Linked DNA regions of Homo sapiens: all the other regions are linked to region 2. Evidence: promoter capture Hi-C in 16 types of primary human blood cells and fetal thymus (Javierre and others, 2016). All regions are on one chromosome and are shown on one strand. Each heading gives the region's core, a stretch centred on a gene start or on the middle of the fragment in contact. The rest is flanking DNA. Distances are from core to core; before and after follow the strand shown. Region 1 has its middle 5.1 kb from the start of TMSB4X. Region 2 holds the start of FAM9C (family with sequence similarity 9 member C). Region 3 has its middle 110 kb from the start of FAM9C.

Region 1 (2,700 bases), core at 99-2,598, 75 kb after region 2:
TAAGTCCCCCCTGTGAATAACAGGAAAATGAAAAGAGAAAGGATATTTAGTAGACTAGCTATATCTTGTAACCTCAGCTATAAGCCCTTTTAAACAATATCTGATTCCATTCTTACCCTATGGAGTGAGTACTAATATCCCCATTTTACTACTAAAGAAATTGAGGCTCCGAGAATTTAAGCAATTTGCTCTTAATCAAATGCCCAGGTCTGTCTACCAAGTCTTTCCACCGAGGCCTATCTCTGCCTTATCTTTAGTTGAAGTATCTTTCTCCAGGACTCCCACCCAGAGCGGACCCACATGGTGCAAAGAGGAAGGCGAGCAGGGGGTGGCAGGAAAGCAAAGAGGAGTGAAAGAACACCCTCGCCTGTGCTCAGTGCTGAGTGCCGTGCTGCTAATTGTCCTGTTTGCTTTATTGATCCGATGGAAACTTTAGAGCCAAAAGAAATGTAAAAGGGGATCTCATTCAACCCAGTTTCCCTTCTGTGGCTTGAATTTTCCTCTACAACATCCCCTCCAAGTGGTTACTCAGCCTCCACACAGCCAGGGAACAATACGGAAGCAGAGAATCTTCGAGTTAACGCAGGGGGCAATGAGTAGCTTAGCTTGGCAGGCACTTGCGTAAAATGAGAGAAAGTGACAGGAAATAACGCTGGGAACCAGGCAGGGGCCAGGTTGTAGAATAATGATAGTAACAATCATGGCTGTACCCATAGCAGTAATAACAGCAAGTGCTTTCTGAGTGCTTTCCATATACTGGGAAGCTTTCCATGTAGTATTTCCCGAATCCTCACACAATCCTATGACAGTGGCACCATTATTCTCCTCATTTTGCAGATGAGAGAATTCTAGAGGGATTAAATAACTTCCCCAAGAAAACACAACGAAAGCCAAAGGCAGGATTTGAACTCAGACTGGCTGGCTCAGAAGCCGCCTCATTTAAACACTACTCTTCTCTAGAATCCTAAGGCCTTTTAAAGGCTTTGTTCCATACGCCAGATAAGGGTAAAGTTATATTCTGTCTCAATCAGCTGTCTAGCTTTTTCATCATGTAGATGTTTTTTCTCTTTTTTTCTTTTTTTTTTTTAAGAAACAGGTTCTCTCTATGTTGCCCAGGCTGGTCTCAAGTTCCTGGGCTCAAGCAATCCTTCCACCTCGGCCTCCCAAAGTGCTGGGATTACAGGCGTGAGCCACCGCACCCAGCCTACATCATGAAGACATTTAAACATAGATATCGTAATAATGTCATATACATTAAAATTTTCCCTGCCCCAATTTTCAAATTATTTCATTACAGAAATTCAATCTGCTCTTTTTCCTCCTCCTGCATGGCCAAGGCACTGGCAATAAAGAGAATTTGTATCCTGAACGTTAGTAGTTTTCCTCAGCTTTTCACTACTTAAATATTTTTCTTTTTCTTTTTCTTTTCTTTTTTTTTTTTTTTGAGTCGGAGTCTTGCTCTGTCACCAGGCTGGAGTGCAGTGGTGCAATCTCGGCTTACTGCAACCCCCGCCTCCCAGGTTCAAGCGATTCCCCTGCCTCAGCCTCCTGAGTAGCTGGGGTTACAGGTGCACACCACCACTCCCAGCTAATTTTTTGTATTTTAGTAGAGACAGGGTTTCACCGTGTTGGCCAGAATGGTCTTGATCTCCTGACCTCGTGATCTACCCGCCTCGGCCTCCCAAAGTGCTGGGATTACAGGCGTGAGCCTGGCCTTACTACAATATTTTTCTAAGAAGTCATTCATATTACAATGGCTAAAAAAATTAGTAGGTTCAATAGCATATTGAAAGGGGAGGCATTACACACTCCCAATGGCTTTCTGTGTTAAAAATGACAAACCTTTGATTCCATTGTGAAGCAGAATTATGCTTAGCAAGTAACAAGTGTTTGTATTTTTTAATGTGTTTTTTCTGTGGGTGCCAAAGCTTTATATAAAATATAGTTCCCAGATCATCAGCAGAAGATGGTTAATAGCTTTATGGTGAGGAAAATGGAGTGTAGGTAATGGAGCACTGGCTCAAATCTGAGGGGAAAACCCACATAGGCCAAGATCAACTTCCTTGGCTGACCCTGACGATTTGGCCTCTCCAGGACTGGCTTCACAGGTGCACAGCTGTGCAGCTGCACTGGGCCTTACGCTCAGAAGTCCCTGGTGCTTGGCTTAATGTACTGCTGCCGCCATTTTGAAATTCTTACCCCACATTTCTATTTTGTACTGTGTCCCCCAAATTCTGAAGCCAGTCCTGCCCTTTTTAGATTCTCATTCTTTGAGTGCCTCCAGTGCTACTGTCTTTTCCTGGACCCAGGAATGGGCCCTTACACACGTGCCTCTTCCTCTGCCTATAATGCCCTCTCAGGTCATGCCCATTAACACTTCTCAGGTGTGGAAACTCCCTGTTCTTCTTGAGCTGAGAAAGTGGTGCCAATTTAGGAAAAAAAAAAAAACTTTTTATTAGGAAACTAGAGGAAAACAAATTTTAAAGTACAAAACAATGGGCTTCTTAACAATGCTATAGAGCTTCATCATAGGTTGATTTGACCGGCAGAGCTTAAGGGCCACAGCATCTTAGTTCCCTTACCCATTCCCAGAGCACCTGGGAGGAGGTGCGGATACCAGACCAAGGTTCTCAGACTGCTGGCACCAGTAGAGCTGGTGGCACCAGTGCCAGAATTGGAATTCTTCATCCCTCTATTTTC
Region 2 (2,700 bases), core at 119-2,618:
GTGGGGAAATGGGGACAGCTGGTGGTATTTAGTGTCAGTAATTAGGGATTCTCTTTAGGTTATAGAGAACTCTTAGATATAAAGGTGAGCTGCCTTGTCAGGGAAAGATGGCTTCCAACCCAGCTGTGGAAATAATCGGGCTGGGCACGATGGCTCAAGCCTGTAACCCCAGCACTTTAGGAGGCTGAGGCGGGCGGATCGCTTGAGCCCAGGAGTTGCAGACCAGCCTGGGCAACATAGTGAGACCTCATCTCTGCAAAAAATAAACAAAATTGGCCAGGAGCGGTGGTTCATGCCTGTAATCCTAGCACTTTGGGAGGCTGAGGCGGGCAGACTGACTGAGCTCAGGAGTTCGAGACCAGCCTGGGCAACACGGTGAAACCCTGTCTCTACTAAAATACAAAAAAAAAAAAAAAAAAATCAGCCAGGCGTGGCGGCGTGCGCCTATAGTCCCAGCTACTTGGGAGGCTGAGGCAGGAGAATTGCTTGAACCAGGGAGGCAGAGGTTGCAGGAAGCCGAGATCGTGCCACTGCACTCCAGCCTGGGGACAGAGTAAGACTCTGTCTCTAAAAATAAATAAATAAATAAAATAAAATTAGCTGGGCATGGTGGGACATGCCTGTAGTCCCAGCTACTTGGGAGGCTGTGGTGGGAGGATCCCTTGAGCGCGGGCAGTTGAGGCTACAGTGAGTAGTGATTACACCATTGCAGCCCAGCCTGGGTGACAGAGCAAGACCCTGTCAAAAAAAAAAAAAAAAAGAAAAAAGAAAAATGAAAGAAAAGAAATGACCACATCATGAGAAATCTAGACATAAAGTCTTTAACTTTGTATATCCACTGCAGAATCATGCAATGCCCAGTGTGAGGGAATGGAGTAGGATAGGAGAAAACTACCTGCCCCTGCTGGGAGTCAACAATTTTCTTAGATAAAACATAAAAGCACAATCCATTGATAAAAAGGATGCAGCTGGGCGTGTTGGAAGCACACAGGACATGGGAGGGAGCCTGGGCTCCACCCGCAGGGTGATGGCCATTCCACCCAAAGGGGCAGGAGTGGCTGGAACGAGCCTGGGGGCAAGGTCCTAGGCCCCGTTCACTTGGCCTCCATTCCTTAGGGCAGGGTCCCCTGGCACTCACCACTCCCGAGTCCTTGCTTCCTTCACCAGGATGAGGAGCTGGAATATCGTGGGGACAGAGGCCTCAGAGAGCCACCCAATGAGTCCACAGCAGCCATGGACAGTCCGTGAGGGGGAGGGTGTGCCTGCAGGGGGCGTGGCCCCATGCCGCCCGCCACCTGCATGCGCACTGGGCCGACCAATCAGCGAGGAGCGCGGGCAGCCGGGGCGGCTGCTGCTCTCGTGAGAACAGAGGACCCAGGCCCTCGGAGGAGCTTCGCGGTGCCAGCCTCTGCAGGTCCTCTGAGGGAGCAACATCAGGGCTCCCTCAGGTGAGACGCCCTCGGTGGGGATGCGGGGAAGGCGGGCCAGAGGCCCTTTGGGGAAGAGGGTGTGAAGGGCGGGGCAGCCAGGCTGATCTGTGAGGAAATGGCCCAGGCATTGTCGCCTGGGGCCTGGGTCAGGGCAGGGAGTTGGAGCTGCCTGAGTGGTCCCCAGGACCCAGGAGGGTCCCGGAGGCCTGTGCATGTGTGCAGCGTTTGGGGGGGGGTCGGGGGGTCAACGTGGGTCCGTCTTGTCTGGCTGCCCATCAGGACGGGATACTTGGGGTCACCAGGGGTCCCCTGGGCGTCCAGGCTGGCGAATGGGCAGTCCCTGCCCCTGTCAGAAACAGGTGCGTACCGGCTCATTCCCATGGAGATGGCTGGGGAGATCCTGTGTCACCCCGCGGCCCTCCCGACTCCACTGGGTCGCTGGGGAACCCAGGGGCAGGGCCAGGCTCTGTCCCAAGGGCACTGCAAGAATCCCGCAGAGGCCGCGGAATTCTGCGAGCTCTGCAGCCAGCCCCGGGGAAGCGCTGGACGGGCCAGGACAGGAGGGGATGATGGCATCTTCTCCGCGTCCCCTCCTGCTCCCACGGGAGACCCGGGGCGCCCTTGAACCTGCGATCCTGATGATTTTCATTTAACACGCCTCGTTTCCTTAGTGTCCTTAGTGTGTCTTTGCACTCACCAGGTTCAGAGGTCGCCTCTAGCTTCCCAGGCCAGTCAGCCACGGAGCCCGTGGGCAGGAAGGGCAGCAGGATGGCTGCCAAGGACCAGTTGGAGGTTCAAGTTATGGCCGCCCAGGAAATGGAGCTTGCAGGTAAACACAGCCCAAGGGGACCTAGAAGAAGGTGCACGCCCAACAGTCTGTCTGCTTTCTGGGCGGGGCGCACATGGGCAGCCCGAGGCCCCCGGCCCCTTCGTGGCTTTGGAGCTCACCGTGCATGTGCTGAGATGCCCCAGGTTTTCAAAGCAGGCTCAAGGGCCTTAGGCTTCCCGTGGGAGGCTCCCCCTCATAGCAGGGTTACAGATGCTCTCAGAGCAGCTCTTCTCCATGGATGCGGTCCTGACATCCAAGGGATCTGACCTGTGAACGTTGTTTACTGGGACTTGAACCCGAAGGGCTTCCAAAAATGCCTCCGTAAAATGGTTAGGAGCCGGCGATTCCATGTATAGCTCTGCGGTAAAGCTTTAATTGGCGGAGAGCCAAAAAAGTCTACAAATAGTACGTTTCTCTATGAAAAATGTCCACAACAGCGTC
Region 3 (2,700 bases), core at 86-2,585, 110 kb before region 2:
GGTGATGGAAATATTGTGTCTTGATTATGGCAGCGGTTTCATGGGTGTCAAAACTCAACAAATTGTATACTTTAAATGGATACCATTTACTGTACATAAATTATACTACAATAAAGCTGATTTACAAAAAGAGGGAAGCTTCTTGGGGGCCCCTGGACTGGATGAGGAACCCCTTTTCCACTGGGAAGGAAGGGAAGTACAATCACCTGATGGGTTCTTCTGGCCCGCTGCGCAGATAAAACCAATTCACTGAGATAGTGGTACTGCAGTAGAGAAAGAGTTTAATAATCACAGGGCCAGCTAAGTGGAAGAACAAGAGTTTAGTACTCAAATCAGCTTCCCCAAAAGCTTGGAGGGTAGGGTTTTTTCAAGGATATTTTGGCAGGCAGGGGGCTAGGGATTGGGTGTGCTGATTGGTTAGGAATGAAATTGTAGGGTTGTGGAAAACAATCCTTGTGCACTGACTCAGCCTCTGGGTGGGGGCCACGGGATTAGTTGAGTCATGAGTCATGGGTCGGGGTAGAGTCAGTTGGTTGCCATAATGCAAAAATCTGAAAACCATCTCAAAAGACCAATCTTAGGTTTTACACTAGTGATGTTATCTACGGGAGCAATTGGGGAAGTCACAAATCTTATAATTTCTGCCACATGACTCCTGAGTAGTAAGGGATTACAGAAGCAAGCTAGGAGGCTGGGCATGGTGGCTTACATCTGTAATTCCAACACTTTGGGAGGCTGAGGTGGGAGGATCTCTTGAACTCAGCAGTTCAAGGCCAGCCTGAGCAATATAGTGAGACCCTGTCTCTTTAAAAAATAAAAATAAAATAGAAAGCAAGTTAGGGAACAATGGCTGGTTATCGTTTACACCTACATCTCAGCAGAATTCAGGCCCCTCCCATAATCCTAATCTTGTGGCCCTTCATTAGTTTTACAAAGGTAGTTTTAGTCCCTGAACAAGGAGGGGTTCTGGGAGGAACTATTATCATCCTTGCTTCAATGTTAAACTGTAAACTAAATTCCTCCCACGGTTAGCTTGGCCTATGCCCAGGAATGAGCAAGAATAGCCAGATTGTGAGGCTAGAAGCAAGATGGAGCCAGCCATGCTAGACTTCTGTCACTGTCATGATGTTTGCAAAGGTGGTTTCAGAAGGAGGCCAAAGCAGAAATGGTCACAGATCCATTCATAGATGAGGAGGGGCTGCAGAGAGAAGAAAGTGGTTAGCCATGATACTCTTAATGTTTTCTTAGAATGTAATGGCCCAAGGGGTTCTTTCCTGCCCCCTACACAAAGAAAGACCATGGTATTGTAGCAAAGGAAGAGTTTAATAGACAGGCTGGCCACACCACATGGGAGATGGAGTTAGTACTCAAATCATTCTCCAAAGCTCACAAGTTAGGCGTTTCTCAAAGGCATCTTTGGGGGAAGGGGTGGGGGTGGCTAGGCTTGCAGCTGGTTGGTTGGTGCAGAGATGAAATCATAGCCAGTTGCACCTGTTCTCCTGTGTGCTGAATTGCTTCTGGGTGGGACCACAGGAGCAGAGTTGGAGGGTCCAGGTGGAGCCATGGGTGTCAGACATACAAAAAGCCTGAAAAGATATCTCAAAAGGCCAATCTTAAGTTCTACAATAGTGATGTTATTTGTAGGAGTAATTGGGGAAATTGCATATCTTATAACCTCTGGAATAATGGCTGGCAATTGTTCATGTTTGCATCTTAGCAGAACCCAGGCTGCTCTCCTCCCCGCAGCCTGATGGCCTTCCATTAGCGTTACAAAAGCGATTGAGTTTTACGGGAGGCTTTTTATCATTTAAACTGCAGCCTAAATGTCTCTCAAAATCAGCTTGGCCCAAAAGCCCAGGAATAATTAAAGGAAAGGCAAACTGTGGGGTGGGTTAGCTCAGCTCACCGTTACAACTTTTCTCGCAAAGGCAATTTCAAGAAGCTCCCTGCATTACTGCCCACAGCAACGAGTCTCCTTTTAACATGCAGATTCACGTCGATCATAACGAGCTCAACTTGCATCTGAAGACTGGAGACTCTCACTGACACATCTTAACCCACAATGTGTACTATCCAGGCAGAATATTTGCAAGGTCTACCCTTCTCCTTTTAAATCAAAATTCAGCCCACCTTCAGCTTGGTATTCCTGCCACACAGAGCCCCTGAGAGCTTCAGCAGAGAACTGGCTGATGTGTTCTGAGTGTTGTTTTCTTTGATTCCTTGTGAGTGGCATTTTCTTTTATTTCTTCCTGTGTCTCTTTAATTACTGGCAGCTCCAGAAGCAATGAGAAGCTGGGAGGAAAGACTTCGTCAGAAAGCTTCAGGCTGAGAGGAGAGCTTGAAAGATAGGGATCTGCCAGCACCTCTGTGGTTATCGACTCTTTCATGTAACCACTTACCAGAGTATATCAGACAGTATTTTGCAGTAACGAAGACAGAGCCATAGCAACCAGACTACAAAGAGAAGCCCAGGGTTCTGGAAATGGCTCCAAGTCTCTGAAGAGATGTTAGCATTTCACAGCTTCCATTTCTTTTTGTGTTTGTTTCCTTTTGGTAGCCACTGGAGACAAGCCGTGTTTTCTTTACACACCCCAAAACTAGGGAAATTTTTATTTACCACAGCTGGGTATATGAGCCTAAGACTGGAATTCTTCAGTTAACAGTCATGTTAAATGGAAATTCATTTTCTCAGTCAGGAAA

Evidence for each region. Contacts are between HindIII fragments. The CHiCAGO score rates a contact against its expected background, and 5 or more counts as called.
Region 1: a contact is called between a fragment that was not itself captured here and the fragment with the promoter of FAM9C in region 2, in 7 of 17 cell types (naive CD4 T cells, non-activated CD4 T cells, activated CD4 T cells and 4 more). The highest score is 14.3, in naive CD4 T cells.
Region 3: a contact is called between a fragment that was not itself captured here and the fragment with the promoter of FAM9C in region 2, in 3 of 17 cell types (activated CD4 T cells, non-activated CD4 T cells and naive CD4 T cells). The highest score is 7.0, in activated CD4 T cells.

Annotation. Positions count from the first base shown.
Region 1 is chrX:12,968,678-12,971,377 of GRCh38, reverse strand. No RefSeq gene overlaps it. Among named protein-coding and RNA genes, the nearest start is that of TMSB4X, 5.1 kb to the left of the region's middle. The HindIII fragment of the contact is 1,164 bases long and covers 767-1,930 here.
Region 2 is chrX:13,043,288-13,045,987 of GRCh38, reverse strand. FAM9C (family with sequence similarity 9 member C) reads left to right here and starts at 1,368. Exons shown (of 8, transcript NM_174901.6): 1 at 1,368-1,448; 2 at 2,131-2,259. The coding sequence starts at 2,199. LOC105373133 (a long non-coding RNA gene) reads right to left here and starts at 1,255. Exons shown (of 4, transcript NR_171577.1): 1 at 1,139-1,255. The HindIII fragment of the contact is 8,868 bases long and covers 1-2,630 here.
Region 3 is chrX:13,151,774-13,154,473 of GRCh38, reverse strand. No RefSeq gene overlaps it. Among named protein-coding and RNA genes, the nearest start is that of FAM9C, 110 kb to the right of the region's middle. RefSeq lists an enhancer at 1,489-2,088. The HindIII fragment of the contact is 1,970 bases long and covers 351-2,320 here.